3 separate regions of the Homo sapiens genome follow, and regions 1 and 2 are each linked to region 3. The links are contacts of gene promoters, found by promoter capture Hi-C in blood cells and fetal thymus (Javierre and others, 2016). All regions are on one chromosome and are shown on one strand. The core of a region is centred on a gene start or on the middle of the fragment in contact, and the rest is flanking DNA. Distances in the headings are between cores, read along the strand shown. Region 1 overlaps SEZ6L (seizure related 6 homolog like). Region 2 overlaps SEZ6L (seizure related 6 homolog like). Region 3 holds the start of CRYBB2 (crystallin beta B2).

The links. The method cuts DNA at HindIII sites, captures the fragments that hold promoters and counts their contacts. A CHiCAGO score of 5 or more calls a contact.
Region 1: a fragment that was not itself captured here is called in contact with the fragment with the promoter of CRYBB2 in region 3 in 1 of 17 cell types (M2 macrophages); the score reaches 5.3 in M2 macrophages.
Region 2: a fragment that was not itself captured here is called in contact with the fragment with the promoter of CRYBB2 in region 3 in 1 of 17 cell types (M2 macrophages); the score reaches 7.8 in M2 macrophages.

The regions. Positions count from the first base shown.
Region 1 is chr22:26,314,573-26,318,986 of GRCh38, reverse strand. The region is part of intron 9 of SEZ6L (seizure related 6 homolog like); the gene reads right to left. Among named protein-coding and RNA genes, the nearest start is that of SEZ6L-AS1, 70 kb to the right of the region's middle. The HindIII fragment of the contact is 501 bases long and covers 1,316-1,816 here.
Region 2 is chr22:26,337,286-26,341,683 of GRCh38, reverse strand. It overlaps SEZ6L (seizure related 6 homolog like), which reads right to left. Exons shown (of 17, transcript NM_021115.5): 10 at 1,052-1,248. Among named protein-coding and RNA genes, the nearest start is that of ASPHD2, 90 kb to the left of the region's middle. The HindIII fragment of the contact is 3,843 bases long and covers 1-3,453 here.
Region 3 is chr22:25,217,576-25,221,981 of GRCh38, reverse strand. It overlaps CRYBB2 (crystallin beta B2), which reads right to left and starts at 2,343. Exons shown (of 6, transcript NM_000496.3): 1 at 2,316-2,343; 2 at 499-578. The coding sequence starts at 552. The HindIII fragment of the contact is 9,715 bases long and covers 1-4,406 here.

The DNA.
Region 1 (4,414 bases), core at 317-2,816, 1.1 Mb before region 3:
AAATTGACAGATGCTACAAATCAGGGTGTGGCCCACTGTGCCGCCAACTTGTTAAGAAAGCCAGCACTCCACTGGGCCAGAATAACGCCAAGGTTTCTGTTTTGTCGTTGTTTGATTCTTTCCCCCAAGCAACTGATGGAATAGATCATACCTTACACATATGAGAAAGATGGGGGTAAAATAAGTATAATAGATAAATAGATAAATAAATATCTCCCTATAAGTAGATATAGGGAGGGAGAATCAGGAGTTTGTCTTTGAATACATTTCATTTGAGATGCCTCTTAGACATCCAAGTGAAGTGGTGAGGAAGCAAGAGGATATAATTAAATGTAATAGTTGCAACTACTTCATGGGATTAATCCAAAGAACAAATAATACAATTTATTTTTAACTTATATGAAGTAAAAATTAATGTTAGTAAAGACCTTACAAATAGTAAGTGCTTAAAAACATGAATTTCTTCATTGCTGCAATGAGAAGGGAGCTTAAACCCTCAATCACCTTAATCATTTGCAAGGGTTGCAAACTGGTGGTCCTCAGTTTGGATTCAGCCAGTAGGCACTTTTTTTTTTTTGGAGGAGGGGATGCTATTTTTAAAAATTGAAATTATGGCCCGGGGCAGTGGCTCACACCTGTAATCCCACCACTTTGGGAGGCTGAGGCAGGCAGATCACTTGAGGTCAAGAGTTTGAGACTAGCCTGGCCAACATGGTGAAACCCCATCTCTATTAAAAATACAAAAATTAGCTGGGTGTGGTGGCACACGCCTGCAATCCCAACTACTCATGAGGCTGAGGCAGGAGAATCGCTTGAACCCAGGAATCGGAGGTTGCAGTGAGCTGAGATGGCACCACTGCACTCCAGCCTGGGTGACAGTGAGACTCTATCACAAAAAATAAAATAAAATAAAATAAAATAAAATAAAATGGAAATTGAATTTAAATGATTTTAGATAGGGTATGTACTTCCTAATTCATCGCAGACCCCTCCCCTCCATATAATCTCACAACAGCTCTAATTCCGGTATTTGTGTTGCCTGGCCCTTCATGATTTTGGATTTGCAACTACCCTTGATTCAAGGTAGCCCATCATCTTGCAGAGGAGGAATCTGAGGCCCAGAGATGCTAGGTGCTGGGTCCAGGGCTGCTGAGGGCATGGAGTATCAGGGCAGGGAGGAAGGAAACTGAGGGCCCTCTCTCCTGGTCAATGCTCAATCTACGATTGTGAAAATGTTCAGAAGAGAGAAAGCCTGCCCCCGCTGCAAGGGCTCCCTTCCTGATGCTAATGCCAGTGGCTTGGCTTTGGGGAAGCTTTAATTGCATGAGGTTCCCGGATCGGCTGCTCCATTGCATGCATGCTTAGTGGTAGAAATAAAACCCAATCTGGTGTCAGGCTGAAGGTTAATTGAATATTTGATGCCTAGAGATGATGAAAGTAAAGATTCCCATTTTCTTGTTTCCTCCTCTAGACCTCTGGCACCAAAGGGAGATGTGGGCCCGTCTTATTTAAGCAAAACCACCCATCTGGGAGGCTCCCTGTGAGGCCAGAAGAGGCAAGCCAAGCAGAAGAGAGGGGATTATAGATGACTTCATGGGGCCTGGGGCTGGGTGGGATCTTCTGCCAGAGAAGCCAAGAACTCAGGAGTAGGTCGTACCTTCTCTTGGCTGAAGACAGGTAGTTTTCCTGGTAACTTCTGGGGGAAGGAATTCATAAGCTGGAACCATAAATTTATTTTTATGGACAAGGACAAGGGGGCGACACAGAAGGCTTCCTAAAGGATGCAGCCTTAGAATAAAGTTTTCTATGTGAAGCTTCAGCTAAGAAGACCCCAGAGCTTCCCTTTGATCCATTCCCTCTGTAGTCTCTACCCACCTGCCATGCTTTGCTCCAGCCACATTAAACTTTATGTCATTAAGTGGGTCACACTCTTTCATTTCCAGGCTTTGTAGATGTTTTGCAGATGTTCTCATCATGTAGGTAGGACATTCTTCTTCCTTTCCTGTCCTGTCCTCCCTCCCTCCCTCCTTCTTTCTTCCTTTCTTTCTTTTCTTTCTTTCTTTTTCTTTCTTTCTTTCTTTCTTCTTTCTTTCTCTTTCTTTCTTTCTTTCTTTCCTTCTTCTTTCTCTCTCTCTCTTTCTTTTCTTTCTTTCTTTTTTCAGAGTCTCACTCTGTCACCCAGGCTTAAGTGTAGAGGCATGATCTTGGCTTACTGCAATCTCCACCTCCCGGGTTCAGGTGATTCTCTTGCCTCAGCCTCCCAAATAGCTGAGATTACAGGCACCCACCACCACGCCTGGCTAATTTTTGTATTTTTAGTAGAGGCGGTGTTTCACCATGTTGGCTGGGCTGGTCTTGAACTCCTGACCTCAAATGATCCACCCACCTCAGCCTCCCAAAGTGCTGGGATTACAAGCCTGAGCCACCATGCCTGGCCAGGACATTCTTCTTTTCCCCTCGTCACCTGCCTACCTTCTCTTTCATGCTATTATAGAAGCTACTTCCTCCTGGAAGCCCTCCTGATTTCACTCAGGTGCCCTCACCTGCCTGTCACTGCTCCTTTCACACTGCATTTACTTTCTTACCTGCCTCACCTGCTAGGCATGCAGGGTGAGGACTGCCCTGTTTTTCTCACAACTGTATCTTCAGTGCTAAGCCTACTGCTGGCACACGGTAGGTACACAATAATTTTTTCCCTAGAGTTAAGAGAGACAATCCATTCCATTCTTTCCAATATGAATTTTACCACTGAAGGAACAACCATTAGAACCTTTCCAGCACATAAAATTGTGCTTGGTTGATAGTAGACACTCAAACAGTTCGGTTGGAATGAATGAATAAGCATCTTATTCCAGACTCTAGAAGTCAGAGAGAAAGGAATGGGGGGAAGAGGATGAGGTCTATTTAATTCAATTTGAATTTTTATTTTTTTTTGAGACAGAGTCTTACTCTGTTGCCCAGGCTGAAGTAGTGGTGCAATCATGGCTCACTGCAGCCTGGAACTCCAGGGCTCAAGTAATTGTCCCACCTGAGCCTCCCAAGTAGCTGGGACTACAGGTGCCACCATGCCTGGCTAGTTTTTTTAATTGTTTGTAAAGATGGGGTCTCACTATGTTGCCTAGGCTGGTCTCGAACTCCTGGCCCCAAGTGATTCTCCTACCTCAGCCTCCCAAAGTGTTGAGATTACAGGTGTGAGCTACCGTGCCCAGATGAGGATGAGCTTTATTGAGGAGTGAGGCAATGGGCTAGGAACGCGTAAAATCTGCCTCCAGCAGCCACAAAGCACTGATGTTCCAAGACCCCCATTACAGGAGAGAAAAATTGAGGTCCAGAGAGAGGCGAGAACAGGTGAGCCCAGCCCAAAGTCACATGGGAAGGAGGTGGAATTCTTTCTTAGATTGGCCTGGCCCCAAGTCCACAAGGGGCAGCTATTCAAGCTGTGTAAGTCTCTGACTCCACTGGAGAAGGAGGTTCTGGGACAGCCTCTGGGGACACTTCTTTTTTTTTTGAGACAAGGTCTTACTCTGTCACCCAGGCTGGAGTGCAGTGGCATGATCATGGCTCACTGCAGCCTCAATTTCCCAGGCTCAAGAGATCCTCCCATCTCAGCCTCCCAAGTAGCTGGTACCACAGGCGTGTGCCACCACATCCAGCTAATTTTTATTTTTTTGAAGAGACAGGATGCCTCTATGTTGTTGGGACTGGTCTCAAACTCCTGGTCTCAAGCAATCCTCCTGCCTCAACCTCCCGAAGTGTTGGGGTTGTAGGCATGAGCCACCGCACCCAGACTAAGGACACTTGCTGTGTCTAAGGAACAGCCTCAAAAGCCGGTCACTAATAATTTGAAAATAATTTCTCTTTCTCTTGCAAGGTTCCTCTGTAGAGCCAGAGAACTGTGAGTGCTGCTTCCCCAGGCTGCTGGGTTTCAGCACTCTCTCCGCCCCCAACCACCCTCCCGTCTGCCACCTGGGTCTGTCAGGAACCCTGTATTCTGCTTTCTCCAGGCACCACCGTCTGTCTTTGTCCACTTCTCACCCCCATCTCACATGGGGCAGTGGAAAGAGCATGACTGAGAAGCCACAGAAGCCTGAATTTCAGCCCCGCTGCTCGCTGGCTTTCTGGGTGGCCTCCCTGCACCTCTGCTGCCTTCTCAGACAGTGGGGTTAATGACCTCCCAGGGGGGGTTCTCTGTGAGAATTACCTAAGATAGAAATGCTTAGAGCAGTCACTTTTGCATCTGGCCCAGAGTAGCTGCTTCCCTGCAAGTGTCACCCTCTTGGGGAGCTAGCGGGGAACATTCTGGATGGAGAATCTAATGGTTACCCCCTGTGAATACAGGAAACCCAGCCGCACAGCTAAGTAAGTCCGTTCATTAAAAACATTTTTTTTCATTCAGCAATCATTTCCTGAGCAT
Region 2 (4,398 bases), core at 283-2,782, 1.1 Mb before region 3:
TGGTGGTGGGTAGGAAAAGAAATCATTCTGTTTGGCCATGTTAAATCTGAGATGTCTACTGGATGGAGGCAAGGGAGGAGTTGGCAGGGAGTTGGATAGATGGATTTGGAGTTTAAGGTCAAGGTTGTAAGTATGAACCGGTCAACGGATATTGGTACTGTTTAAATCCATGGGAACTAATGAAGGCATGGAGGGCGTGAGTCTAGCTGGAAGAGAGGATACAGTCCAGGATGGAGCCTGGGACCCTCCAGGGTTTAAAGGTTGAAAAGGGGTGGGTCGTAGAGCTAGTAATGAATGAGGGAGAGTTACAGGGTGGGGAATGAGAAGGGAAGAGTGTGATTGGATGAAAGCACACGAGGGGTCATAGGAGTGTGTGAGCTTAGCTTGAATTTGATAGCAGGTTTTTTTTTTGTTTTGTTTGTTTTAGGAGGAGCAGGAGAGACATGGTTTGGAGGCCACATTGAGGATGAGGAAAGACATCTTTTGCATCTATAGCTCCTAAAGTACAAGAAGTGCGAAAGGAAGGCTGTCCTTGTTCAACGAGGCTACAGGAAAAGAAGAGGCCTTAGAGGAGAGCTGAGCTTCAGTTCGGGCAAGAAGGTGAAGACGATGTTTGAGAAGTTGCACAAATTGGGAAGAAATTAGGAAGTATGTTGATGTAAGATCTCAGCTGACCACAAATGAAACATGGGGACAACAGGTTCTCAGCTGACCACACATGAAACATAAGTTATGAGGCATTGTCTACTACATCCTGATATCAACCTTGTGGAATAGGTATCACTATGCCCATCTTACAGATGACAAAAAGAAGGCTCAGAGAGGTTCAGTAACTTTCCCAAAGCCACACAGACATCGATGACCGTGCTAGGGCTCAAACCCTGGTCCTCATGACTAGAGAGCCCAGGCTTTTAAAAATGAAATGAGTACATTTCAATACAATACAATGAAAAATCGCTGTAGTACAAAACTGCCAAATAACCTAGAGGAAACCACCTTAACCTGTATCTAAACACAAAGAAAAAATAAATTGACCAGATGAGACACCTACCTATGTAGTTCATGATAAATCCCTGGCCCTTTCCAAAGATGAGGCCAGCAGGGTCCGAATGGAACTGGATGGTTAAGTCTGGCGTGGAGGAGTACAGTTTCTGGGGGCCACTGTTCCCAAGGTACTGCCCCAAGATGTGGGGCATGACCTCGTCGCCATCGTAGATGGTCAAGATGTCACTGTTGCTCAGATTCAGGCTTGGAGGGCAGAGAAGAGGGAGAGTCATGTGAAATAGAGAATGGGCATTCAATAAACCCTTGATTAACTTTTTCAGGCAATACAAAATTTGTTAAGTGTGTATGTGTCAGGCTCCAGGCTATGTGTCTTAACCCCAAGCTGAGGGTAAGATTGACATAGACTGCAAATGTGACACAAAGATTTGTAAGTCATTTTTTTTTTGAGACAGAGTCTCACTCTGTCACCCAGGCTAGAGTGCAGTGGCACTCTCAGCTCGCTGCAATCTCTGCCTTCCAGGTTCAAGCAATTCTCCTGTCTCAGCCTCCCGAGTAGCTGGGACTACAGGTGCATGCTGCTATGTCTGGCTAATTTTTTTTGTATTTAGTAGAGATGGGGTTTCACCGTGTTGCCCAGGCTGGTCTCCAAATCCTGAGCTCAGGCAATCTGCCCACCTCGGCCTCCCAATGTGCTAGGATTACAGGCGTGAGTCACTGTGCCCGGCCGTCAGTTGGGTTTTTGAAGACACATTGATGCAATGGTCTTGGCTGCATGGGACTCATTGCAAAGTCAAATGCTGCATTGTAAGAAGAATCACCTTCAAAACTCCCATTATTGGCAACCATTTCTTAGGTGACATCTCTGTGTTAGGCACCAGGCTACAGGCTGGGGCTATGACCTGCATCTTTCATTCTTCTTCAGTGCAGAACATGCTGACAGCTTGCTAATTACAACTTGCATTTTTATATAAGGTGAAATGATCTTTCCATTTATCACGGGGCAAATTCCTCAGAGTCAACTGAATGATCCATTATGTTTAAGGGGTAGGGCAGAGGTGGGATGGAGGCACCTTACTTATGAGATATGCTCAAACCTGTCACCATTCATACTGTTAAAGGATGACACATTTTCAAAGACTCCAATGCAAGAAAGTACCTTGACACTAAATAATTAAACCACAGTGGATAGTTAATAATCCAGAAATCACTTCACTATACCACAGAAACATGTGCCATCTCAGACATGCTAGATAAAATTGATCTCTAATTGAAAGAATGCCAGATAATTCACCTTTGGCTTCATCAATCATGGACAGATACAAACTCACATTTCTTTCTTTCCTTTCTTCTTTCCCTCTCTCTGTCTTCTTTCTCTCTCATGTCTTTCTCCTTTTCTTGTCTCCTTCTCCTTAATGTTCTTTTTTGTTTGTTTTTTTGAGCATCTACTATGAGCCAGGCACTGTGCTGAGCTCAGAAGGGTCACAGAGTAGTGATCTATTTAGATTTGTAAGCCAGGGATTGTGGCAGGAGTTATAACCAAAGTAAGGACAGAGAAAGTAAGGACAAACTCAGATTAGGGGCATCATGGAAGCATTCCTGCAGTAGGTGATGCTTCTTGCTCTGAAACCTCAAGAAAGAGTAGGAGACCTCGAGGCAGATAAACACAGAGTAGGGAGTCCAGGTGCAGTGGCTTACACCTGTAATCCCAGCACTTTTGGAGGCTGAGGTGGGAGGATTGCTTGAGGCCAGGAGTTCAAGACCATTCTGGGCAACAAAGAGAGACCCTGTCTCTACAAAAAAAAAAAAAAAAAGAAAAAAAAAAAGTCCGGGCGTGGTGGCTCACGCCTATAATCCCAGCACTTTGGGAGGCCGAGGCAGGAGGATCACGAGGTCAAGAAATCGAAACCATTCTGGCCAACATGGTGAAACCCCGTCTCTACTAAAAAAAGAAATTAGCTGGGCGTGGTGGCAGATGCCTGTAGTTCCAGCTACTCGGGAGGCTGAGGCAGGAGAATTGCTTGAACCTGGGAGGTGGAGGTTGAAGTGAGCTGAGATTGTGCCACTGCACTCCAGCCTGGGCAAAGAAGCGAGACCCTGTCTCAAAAAAAATTTTTTTTTTTTGGTGTGGTGGTGCACCTCTGTAGTCCTAGCTTCTCAGGAGGCTGAGGCAGGAGGATTGCTTGAGCCCAGAAGTTTGAGGCTACAGTGAGCTATGATTGTGCCACTGTACTCCAGCCTGGGCAATAGAGCAAGAACTCATCTCACAAAACAAAACAAAACAAAAGAAAACAATGAATGATGGGGAGAAGGCAGAGGGAAGAAAGGAGTAAGACCATGGTTCCTGAAAGAATTTTTCCAGTGGTCAGTGTGCCTGGGGTATGGGGATAGGCATAGAAGCCTGCAGAGTTCTGCAGGGATTAGATCATGAAGGGCTTAAAGAGCCAAGCTTCAACTTTTGGACATCATCTTGCAGGAGACGGGGAGACACTGAAGGGTTTTATACGGGAACTGTATGACTGAGCAATTCAATGCCAGAGGAGAGGTGTTCTGGGAAATGGCCCTGAGCAGAGTTCCTGAAACTGATGCAGACTGACAGTGGCCCTCCCTGCTGATAGCTTCATCCAATGGCCAACAGTGGTGTTTGCTGCTAGTCCGGGAGTTGGGAGGTGAGGTGGCAACTACCCATGTTGGTGTTTCAGGTGGTCAGAACAAAACAACAGAAACACAAAGAAAGGTATTGAAAGTTTGCTTCTGGGAGGGCAGGGATTGTATTTTATTCACCCCAATACCTTCCACCATACCTCTCGTAGTTCCTCATGTAAAGTTGCTCCAAGGGGTGGCTTAGGAAGATTTTGATTGCCGCCATAATTTTCACCAGTTTCCCCTATGCTACTCCCAAAACATCTTCAAATAAAAGCTACCTGCTTGCTTTGCACACATGTCTTCAAGACAAAATCCCCAGACTCCTCCTACCCCCCTGACAGTTTTTAACCAGATTGAAGCCCCTAAACCCCTGCTGTATTGAAATTCTGGAGTTGCCACTTGTTCTTGCACACAGTAGGTGCTCAATAAATGCTAAGGTATGAAAGAGCCTCCCAGAGAGTCTACTTGACAGCAAAAATAGTGGGACTGATGTCAGCTTTGGACCTGTAGTAGGGGAGGGCCTCTTTAGCTCTACGTACCATGAAAACATCAATTGTTCATGAAAGTGCCGGATTAGACTAGTGTGAAACATGGTAGATGGCAGATATATTCCTTAAGCCGACTTCACAGCTGATCCGCTGGTAACAGTAGTTTACAGACAATGCACATCTTGGCTTTATTCTTTCACTTAAATGGCCAAAACGCAGTAGCAGCATCTTCAAGGGTGAAAATAGCTTTCATTTTAAAACC
Region 3 (4,406 bases), core at 1,094-3,593:
CCAGGCCGGGTGTTAGGCTGAGCCTGGTTTCTTTGGCTCTCACAACTTCCCTGTGCAATAAATCTGACTCCTCCTTTTATAGAGATGGAACTGAGGCTCAGAGGGATCAAATAATTGGCCCGGATCACACAGCAGGTGCAGAGCCAGGACTCACACCCACCTTCCATCTACTAATCCCATCTCTGACTGAGAATGAGGGTCTGCTCCAGTTTCAGGGAGCCCTGTAGACAATAGGGTGTGGCAAAACAGGTAAGGGAGAGAGAAACTGAAGTCTCCAAAGCCAGAGGCTGGTACTGGGAATCCCAGCATGCCAGCTATGGGCTGGGGAGGGACTTTCAGTATCAGCTCCAACTGTGTGGGTAGAGGAGACTGAGTCCCAGAGAGGGGCAGGGGTCGAGAGGGGGTACCCATGAAGAAAGATGCCAAGCCCATTTTACAGAAGGGCAACTAAGTCTGGGGGAGGAGCATTGCATGCCCCCTCCTCTGAGAGGTACCCACCTTGGGGTTGAGGGACTGTGGCTTGCCCGCCTGGGTCTGGTGATCTGAGGCCATGGTGGACTGTCCTGTGCAGGAATGACCTGGAAGACATGGGAAGCAGCAGTGAGGACCTGGAGGGGCCACTGGCTTTTTCACTCTGTGGGGCCTTGAGACCACTCCCCTCTGGCCCCAAACATTCTCTTTTTCTCCTGGTTTCAGACTGTCCCAGAGCTGTGGGGTCCGTAAGCAGCTACTTCAACTTCTGTCCTTAGCTTCATTTATTTCTATCCAGGCCAGCTGCAGGAGGAGGGAAAAACGAGGTCTACTCAAAGAAAGAGAGCAGTAATAAACTAGAGCTTAAATGAGGTCCAAAGTGGGTTCCCAACACTCAACCCCAGACAATGGATACCACACAGAATATAGAATGGTCAATCCCAGAACTTCTGCCTTTATGCAGTAATTTCTTAAATAAAATTGTGTGGAACAAACAAAACCTATGCATTGGCTGTATTTGGTGGTGTGGTGGTGCCCAGTTTAGGAACTCACAAAGTTCCCTGTTCCCCTGCTCCTTCTCCCACCCTCTCCCTGGGACTCCTCTCCCCATCCTGGTACCTAGATTTCTCTTCTCTGCCACTGGTTTTACTCCCCCATTAGTGAAATCATCTGATACAGAACCCACATTACAAGAAAGAGAAGAAATGGGTGCGACGGTAGAAATCCAGGCACTGTGGCAGGCAGCAGGGTAGACCTGCCTTAGCTAGTGAGAACATCAGAAAAGCCTGGAAAATTGTCAGCCTCTTCCCCCTTCCTGCAGAAGGGGTGGTCAAACCAGGCTGTGTTTCCCCAGGGGTAAGAGAGGAAGCCTGGCCTCCCTCTTCAGAGATAACGCCAGCTTCCAGAAGCCCCTTCCACATGAAAGGCCAATACTGGATGTTTCCCAGGAGGAAGAAATGCAGTTAAGCACCTTGGCAGCCAAATCTACTGCTCTCCCGCAAGAAACCAGCCCTCTGGGCTTGTCAGAGTGCCTGAGGTCCTGCCATATCACTTCCCAGTCCTGAGTGTTCACAGACTGAAGAAGCTCAGTTGGTCCAGTTCAGGAGCAGTCTCTGCTGCCTGCCAGAATTGAGACTCTGGGCAGGTCTCATCCTCTCCCTATGCCTCAACTTCCTGTTCTATAAAATGGGGACAGTAATGATGTCTAATAATACCTGTGAACAGGTTGTGAGGATTCAATTATGTAATGTATAAAACCGGAAGCACTTGGCCGTGGTCCCAGAACACACTCAGCATGCAGCAAATGGCAGCAATTGTGGCATTATTAGAGTCATTTCTACCATGCTTTAGTGGCATTGAAATCACCTGTTGCTGGGACCTGTCACATACCTGTGGCTGCATCCTATCCCCTAGCACTCCCAGAGGCTAGGCACAGAGTGGGTGCCCCCTAATTGCAGATGTGGAGGAAAACTGACTCACCCACCTAGAAACAATGCTGAACTGTCACTGGTTTGATTCTTGCAAAACCCTCAGTTACATTCTCCTCCTCAGCGACTGGCGAAACAAGGATGCTGATAGTCTGTTTAATATTAATAATAAAGAACATTGCCCCAATGCCCACTGTGTGCCAGGCACTGTGCTGGATGATCCCCTAACTTCTCTTGAATCCTTACAATAAAGAAGGCTTTTTAACCCCCTTCCCAGTTACCAGAAAAGAAAACTGAGGCTAACAGCATTGAAGTCTCTGCCCAAAGTCACTTGTCAGAATCTGGGTGCTCCCATGCTTGCGGACAGGGGTGAGGATGAGAGAAAGAAGGGAAGACAAGCAAGAGAGGCAATCTTACCAGTGACACCAGCCCCTGCGAGTGCCGTGAAGCTCGGCCAGCGGGAGGTGGCATTTATACCTTCCCCAGAAGTGCCGGTGCCAAGATGAGTGACCGCTGTGCTCCTGCGAAAAGCAGGGTGAGAATGCTGGATTAAGCTCTCACCAAAGCTCGGGTCAGCAAATGCCCACAGACATTGTGTCTCTGCACAATAATGTCATTAGCTTTCAGATTCGGCCGCGCCAGGGCGGTCAGGCGGCTGGGCAAGGAGATGCCCGCTTTGCATGCATCAGCCGTCCGGCTGCCAGGGCCAGGGGTACGCTGGGTTCACTGGTACGGTCAGTCAGGCCGTGAGGCATGGCAGACAGAGGAACATCTCAGTGGGCCTGGGGAAGAACAAGTAAAGAAGGGTGGTTTGGCAGAGTCTGGGCTTCATTCATCTACCCATTTATTCATTCAACAAATATTTGTTGGGCATCCACTTGGTGACAATCTCTGTTCCAGGGGAGTGTCAGGAAGAGGACCTACGCCAGCCCAGGCCATTCAGAAAAGCTCCTGGGAGGTAGCGCATCCCTCAGGGATGGAGAAGAGGAAGCCTGGGAACAGGGTGGGGGGACAGTTCCAAGCAGAAAGGGTCCATATACAAGGAACCAGCATGGTGTATTTCAAGAAGACCTGAAAACAGGTTAACAAAGCTAAAGCATGACATGTGACAAATAGGGCCTGTGCCAGGTGGCCAAGGTGGGCAGGGCCTGATGTTGCAGGGCCAGGGAGGCCAATTATGGAGAGTGCATTTTATTCTCAAGGCCCCTGGCTGTTTCTCTTTCTTTTCTTTCTTTCTTTCTTTCTCTTTCTTTCTTTCTTTCTTTCTTTCTTTCTTTCTTTCTTTCTTTCTTTCTTTCTTTCTTCTCTCTCTCTCTCTCTCTCTCTCTCTCTCTCTCTCTCTCTCTCCCCTCTCTCTCTCTCTCTCTCTCTCTCTCCCCCTCTCTCTCTCTCTTTCTTTCTTTCTCTTTCTTTCTTTTGAGATGGAATCTCACTCTGTCACCCAGGCTGGAGTGCAGTGGTGTGATCTCGGCTCACTGCAACCTCTGCCTCCCAGGTTCAAGCGATTCTCCTGCCTCAGCCTCACCAGTAGCTGGGACTACAGGTGTGCGCCACCAGGTCCAGCTAAATTCTTTTTTTTGCTGTATCTTGTTAGAGACAGGGTTTTGACATGTTGCCCAGGGTGGTCTCAAACTCCTGAGCTCAGGCAATCCATCCACCTTGGCCTCCTAAAGTGCTGGGATTCCAGGCATGAGCCACTGCACCCGGCCTGTTTCTTAACCACTGTCCTAGAGTGAGTTGCTCTTAGATCCCTACCACTGGCCCCATCGCTGCCACATGGGTGCCCAGCCTTTACTCACATTTCTTTTCTATTTTTTTTTTTTTTGAGATGGAGTCTCGCTCTGTCGCCCAGGCTGGAGTGCAGTGGCACGATCTCAGCTCACTGCAAGCTCTGCCTCCCGTGTTCACACCATTCTCCTCCTTCAGCCTCCCTAGTAGCTGGGACTACAGGCGCCCGCCAACACGCCCGGCTAATTTTTTGTATTTTTAGTAGAGACGGTGTTTCACTGTGTTAGCCAGGATGGTCTCGATCTCCTGACCTCATTATCCGCCCGTCTCGGCCTCCCAAAGTGCTGGGATTACAGGCGTGAGCCACCGCGCCCGGCCTTTACTCATGTTTCTTTAGTGCACACACCTTCCTTGCAGCCCAGGCTGTGTCTTGATCCAATCTGAGGCTTGGAGACTGGGTCAAGTATACCTGCTTTCCCCTGTCTCTCATTTTCTTAATGCACATATGCATGCACACGCATGCACACACACTACACACACATGCCCCAGCCCCCTAGCTGGGCTTTTCCTTTTGCAGCACTCATCACTACCCAACATTCTGTTACTCATTTATTTTCTGTCTTTCCAATGAGAAGATAAGCACCACAAAAGCAAAGAAGTTGTCCCCCTGGTTTACCATGGTATCTCCAGAGCCCAGTGCCTGACGCATAGTAGGTACTTGTTTTAAAATCCCAGGGCTGGCCGGGCACAGCGGCTCACGCCTGTAATCCCAGCACTTTG